Regions from separate parts of the Homo sapiens genome. Here region 2 is linked to region 1. The links are contacts of gene promoters, found by promoter capture Hi-C in blood cells and fetal thymus (Javierre and others, 2016). All regions are on one chromosome and are shown on one strand. The core of a region is centred on a gene start or on the middle of the fragment in contact, and the rest is flanking DNA. Distances in the headings are between cores, read along the strand shown.

Evidence for each region. The method cuts DNA at HindIII sites, captures the fragments that hold promoters and counts their contacts. A CHiCAGO score of 5 or more calls a contact.
Region 2: a contact is called between a fragment that was not itself captured here and the fragment with the promoter of MBOAT2 in region 1, in 2 of 17 cell types (total CD4 T cells and total B cells). The highest score is 5.4, in total CD4 T cells.

Annotation. Positions count from the first base shown.
Region 1 is chr2:9,002,304-9,005,003 of GRCh38, forward strand. MBOAT2 (membrane bound glycerophospholipid O-acyltransferase 2) reads right to left here and starts at 1,381. Exons shown (of 13, transcript NM_138799.4): 1 at 1,237-1,381. The coding sequence starts at 1,311. LOC124907728 (a long non-coding RNA gene) reads left to right here and starts at 1,773. Exons shown (of 2, transcript XR_007086199.1): 1 at 1,773-1,825. RefSeq lists an enhancer at 38-692 and silencers at 457-751, 1,295-1,754. The HindIII fragment of the contact is 14,053 bases long and covers 1-2,700 here.
Region 2 is chr2:7,059,137-7,061,836 of GRCh38, forward strand. It overlaps a transcript of RNF144A not described here. Among named protein-coding and RNA genes, the nearest start is that of GRASLND, 140 kb to the left of the region's middle. The HindIII fragment of the contact is 5,110 bases long and covers 1-2,700 here.

The DNA.
Region 1 (2,700 bases), core at 131-2,630:
AACACTCCTTCGACATACTTAAGGCGATTTTATTTAAAACAGTAAAGCACAAAGCAGCTAGTATCCTAATGTCAGGTTTCCAGCTTGCTGCTATGGAAAGCCGTCTGGACAAGAAGGAATCCCGTATTGAAGTGAAATCCCTGAAGACTAAATGACAGCAGCACCTTCAAGTTCAAGACAGTGAACCAGTATCCCGTGTGAAGTCCAAACACTTCCAGGTTAAGTACACTTGAAATAACTGTAAGCAAAATTTCCAAAGTTAACTACCTTTAGCCTGGGGCTAGAGCAATCACCTAACTATACACCCCCGCCCCCCAGCCCCCGCCTCATTAACAACTTCCCTAAATCTCACTGTCACAACAAAATACTTCCAAACTTTCTTTTCTCAGTAAAAATGGCGCTGCTTTTCCCATCACAATGCTGTTTATTTCTCAGTAATCGTTAGGCCCTTTAAACCATCAAACTCGATTGGCCTCATTTAAATACCACCCTTCCCTAGACACTGTCAAGAGCTTTTCTGAGGGCTGGGCAAGGAGGTAAAGTGGCTGCATCAATCTACAAGGTTGCCACTTTGTCAGCAAGAATCCTGGGATTAACTCCGACTTTTCTTCATAACCTGTCTGCCTTCCCACAAACTGTTGCCTCTGTCTCTCTTAAGCCACAATCCAACGCAAACTGTCCCCAAAGTGCAGTAGCGCTTAAGCCTCTCCGGGCCCCTAGCACCCATCGACGCCGTCTCTAAGGCACCCAGCACACCCAGACCCATGCATCAGCCTCTCCGGGGGTCGCTCAGAGGCGCGCGCGGGGCAGGCAGCACCACGCCAGGCTCCCCAAAGCGCAGCCTTCCGCACCCTTTCCACAACCCGGTCCATGCGCACCGGGGGCTGCTCCGGGACCCGACCACCGGATCCGAGCGCCGCTGCCGCGAAGGGCAGGGACCGCATGCACACCCGCACGCCCATACGACCACCCTCCCCGGGGGCTGTCGCCGGCAACAACGCCCGGCCCACCTCCCGCTCGGCCCGGGGATGGCGGGCTGGGGGCGCACCCAGGAGGGAGGGGGCTCTGGGACAATAACCGGCTTGTTGCCCCCTCCCTTCCAGGGAGCGGCGGGTAGGGGGGCACCGGGCGCCCGGCCCCAGCCCCCACCCTCCTCCCGGGCCCCCGGTCGGGTGGCACCGCGGCGGGGAGGGGCGGCGAGGGCGCGACGCCCGGCGCCAGGGCGCCTCGGGGTACCTGGTCGATGGGCAGCTGCACGGCGTTGCTGAGGGGCTGCAGCAGGGTGGAGCCCGTGGTGCTGGTGGTGGCCATGGCCGGGCCTCGGCGCTCCGGCCGCCCGCGCCGCTCGCCCGCTCGCGCTGTGCCGGGCGACGACGAGGATGGGGATGCAGCGGCGCGCCCGCCCCTGGGCCGCCCGCGGTCGGAGCTCTGCGCGGGGAAGGCCGGGGAGGGGCCGGGGGCGGTGCCCGGCTCGCACCTCCCCCTCCGCCGCCACCTCCTCCCGCGCCCGCCGCCCCCGACCGCCCTGCACAGGCGCGGCCCGTCCTGCCGTCGCCCCCGTCGTCCCCGCCCCGGCGCCCCAGCCGCATCCCCCGCCCCCGACTTCCAGCAGCTTCCAGCGGCCCCCTCCCCACCTCGCGCGCTCTCGCTCCAGACAGCTGCGCGACCCAATCGCGGCGCGACGCCCTGACGCCCGCAGCCAATCAGAGAGCGCCGGCCGCGCCACGCCCCTCCCCCGTGCCGAGGACCCGGGCGAGGGCGCCGAGGCGCGGCCCGGGCCGTCGCCGGAGAACGGCTGGCCAGCGTCGTGGGGCGCGCTCCTCGGGTGAGAGCATGGAAGAGCGTCTTTGCCCCTCACTCCTCGGTTTCTCCTCCCTGGAATGTCGCGGCCCCCCACCCCTCTCTGGGAGAGACGGCAGACAACAAAGGGGCCCGGGGTGGCGGCCGGAGGGACGATGTGAGGGACGCCGCCGAGCCAGCGCCAGGGGAAGTTGGGGACGAAGGTGGGGGCTGGGAGGACGACAAACCAAAACAGCGACCTGGCTGAGAAGCCCCTTTGTCTGGGAGAGTGCCGGGTGAAAGCCCAAAGCTGAGAGCAGCCCCGGGGTCTGACGCTTTCGTCACCCTGCAGCCGCACCCGGGCCTTTGGGTGGTGAGAGCTGGGCCTGGGTTCGACGCCCGCGGGCGCAGGGAGACCGGCTCCCCTTTGCTGTGTGAAAGTTTAGTTCTTTGTAGCCAGCCGCCCTCGTTGAAGGCCCCACCTTCTTCCTGAGAAAGTTTCTAAGCATCCCTTCACCCCTTGAGCGCAGGCACCCCCAGACTGTTGAAGTCCGCCAGGTTTACATACCCTGGCGGGTCACGTGTATATATAATCCCCCCAACTTCGTAAAAGTAAGCCATTTGAGTTCCTTTAAAATGCAAACGTCAACTTCTGTTCAGAAGACTTTAAAAGAGGAGAAATGCCACAGCAGTTATGAGGACAAATCAAGACTCAAGGATTTGGCAGTTTAACTTTGGTAGAAATAACTAATGTTTACTGAGAGTTTAACCACAGCTTTAATACTTTTGGTATTTAATCCTCACAATAACCGTGTGAAATAGACACTTTTACACACCCTCCTTCAAGGAAGTTGAGTCACAGAAGAGGTAACTTGCCCAGGGGCACACAGCTGGTAAGTAGATTGGAATCCAAGTAAATCT
Region 2 (2,700 bases), core at 80-2,579, 1.9 Mb before region 1:
AGAGATCGAGACCATCCTGGCTAACACAGTGTAACCCCATCTCTACTAAAAATACAAAAAATTAGCCAGGCATGGTGGCGGGTGCCTGTAGTCCCAGCTACTTGGGAGGCTGAGGCAGGAGTATGGCATGAACCTGGGAGGTGGAGCTTCAGTGAGCTGAGATCATGCCACTGCACTCCAGCCTGGGTGACAGAGCGAGACTCCGCCTCAAAAAAAAATAAATGCTACTTTGGATGTATCAGAATAATACTGTAAAGGATTAACCAAAGGCTTCAGCTTTCAGTACGTCCTGTTCTGTGCCATGCCCCGTGTTCCCCTCCCACCCACTTCCTGAGTCAGGCAGCAAGGGCATCTATGCTCATGTTGTCTGGTAGGGTTATTACATCAAACATACAGAGAGAAACAAAAGAGTCAAGTGTCAGCTTTCATGTTTTAGAAGAGACTTTTGATGAAGATGCAGAGTGACCAGTATAGAGAGAACCTTGGGGACCAGCTGGAGGCAGATAGCTCAAGCCACACCAGAAGGTCCAGGTGCCAGCAACCAGAGTCCAGCAGTTAAGGAGAAATCTCAATAAACTCTAATGATGACAGATGCTGAGCACTGAGAACCCAGCACTTTCCTTCTCAGTGCTTTGGTGCTGGAGAACTTACACCAACTCAGAGGAGAAAGGGTGAGAGAGAATCACTAAACCAGCTGAAAATCCTTGATTTGCTTGCTTAATATGAATTACTTAAAATTTAATTTTCTTCTCTTGAGTAAAAGTGGCGCTGCAGGTAGAAAAATAAAGTTATGTTGTTGTGGACATCTGAACCCACATAAGGGCTTGTTTGTGTAGCTGTTTATACTTACAGTCTTAAAATGCTATCATAGGAAAATAGCACATTCAAATTAATATTCCCCATCATGTCAGTGTCTTGAAACGTTATCCATGTTCTGGAAGTTTCAGCCATCAGAATGAATCTTCTAGAGTGAATCTACTGCTAAACATAGTTCAACTAATTGTGTCTCCTCTTTCTTCTTCATCTCCTCCTCTCACTTCTCTTCTTTGTTTCTCTTCTTTCTGCCCCTTCTCTTGGCACTTTCCTCAAAACATTTGAAAGTTGAAATAAGACATGATCCTGTTTTGTTTTTTTTTTTCTTCCTAATCTAAGGTTTCCAGATGGATTAGGCTGGCATTCTGCGTTCCCAGAAATATTTCCAGAGCTGAGAGGGGCAGGAAAGAGAGCACATGTGCTGTTCCAAGCTGTCTGTTGCCTCTGTGTGGCCATCTGTCATTTTCTTCAGGCACACGATGACCTGCAGGGCTGGTTCTTGCTTTTGTTACCTTCAAATCCTGAAGGATTCAGACAGACTAACATTCCAATGCCCTTTATAACCTTTCCCCCTGGCAAAACTTCAGCCAGAATAAACCAAAAATGAAATGGAGAGAAAGATCACTGCATCTTTCTGGATCCCCAAATTTCCATTCCAGATTTAGGGCTGATGTTCCCAGCTCGTTGTCCCTAACCACATCGTTGTCACCCTTGGTTTCCCAGACCACACCAGAGATGCGTAGCATTCCCTTACTCTCTTCTCACCTGCAAGAATTTATAACCTCTTCTGAGACCCACTCAGATGCCCCATCTTACATAGAGCCTTTCCTGTGCAGTCATCCACCTGACCCCATCGCCCCTGCAACCCCTGCAGTCTTTTGTTTTTCTTATGCTCTAGTAGCATGTGGTCAGATCAGCATGCCGGCACTTGTGTTGAATTGCAAATACCTATGTATTCCTTTTTGGCATGTAGTTTCCTTGAGAGGAGATGGGACCTGAGTCTAATAGTTTGTTTTTCCTAGTTTCTAGTAGGTGGCACCAAATGATTTCTAGAAGGCTGGATGGAACCTATGGAATCAAAGGGAAATAAAGCAACATTTTGATGCCCTGGGCTCTACTATGGTAGTGGCCCAAGTGTTTCTACTCTGCTCACCCCTGACATTTATGTGAGCTGTCCATGGATATAAAAAAGCTGCTATGATTTCAGACCTGAGCTTCACCATCAGGTCCAAATTAATTCCCGACGTCCAGGCAAAAGAGGAACATGGCACTCTGACAACTCACCCCAAACTCATTTGTGTAAATATTTTTACTGCACAGTTTTATGTCTCCGAGTTGGTTTCTGACTTCCAATGTCAGCACAGAGCTCTCATGGGAGCCTAGCATTCCCACCAGGCTTCAGCTGAATATTTATGAATGTTCCATAGTAGATATTTTCTATTGTTCCTGGAAGACTTTTATTATTTAGAGAGCAATTAATCATATTCTGAGGGAAAATGGAGGAGCCAAGTCACATGGCAAGGGTGATGATGTTTTTTTTAATTCCAAGATGAGCAAAATAATCTCAGCTAAGGCTTTCTCAAAGATTTGCTTATTTCCCGTGTCTATCTGCACACATTTCTACGGGCCATGTTTCCATCACAAGCAGCCAGCTTAAAAATAGGGCTTAGGCAAGTCTTCTGCTGTCAGAATTGCACACCACTCTTTAGGGCCTATGATTTAGGCTGAATGCTGAGGCCTAGAACTACATCTTACATTTACTTTGGTAACGATGGCATTGCTTTTTAAATTACTCAACACAAGAATGAGAAATAGTTTTTAGAGGATAATATAAGGAGGGATGAATACTTTGTTGAGTGCTTATTATGTTCTTTAGATATATTATAT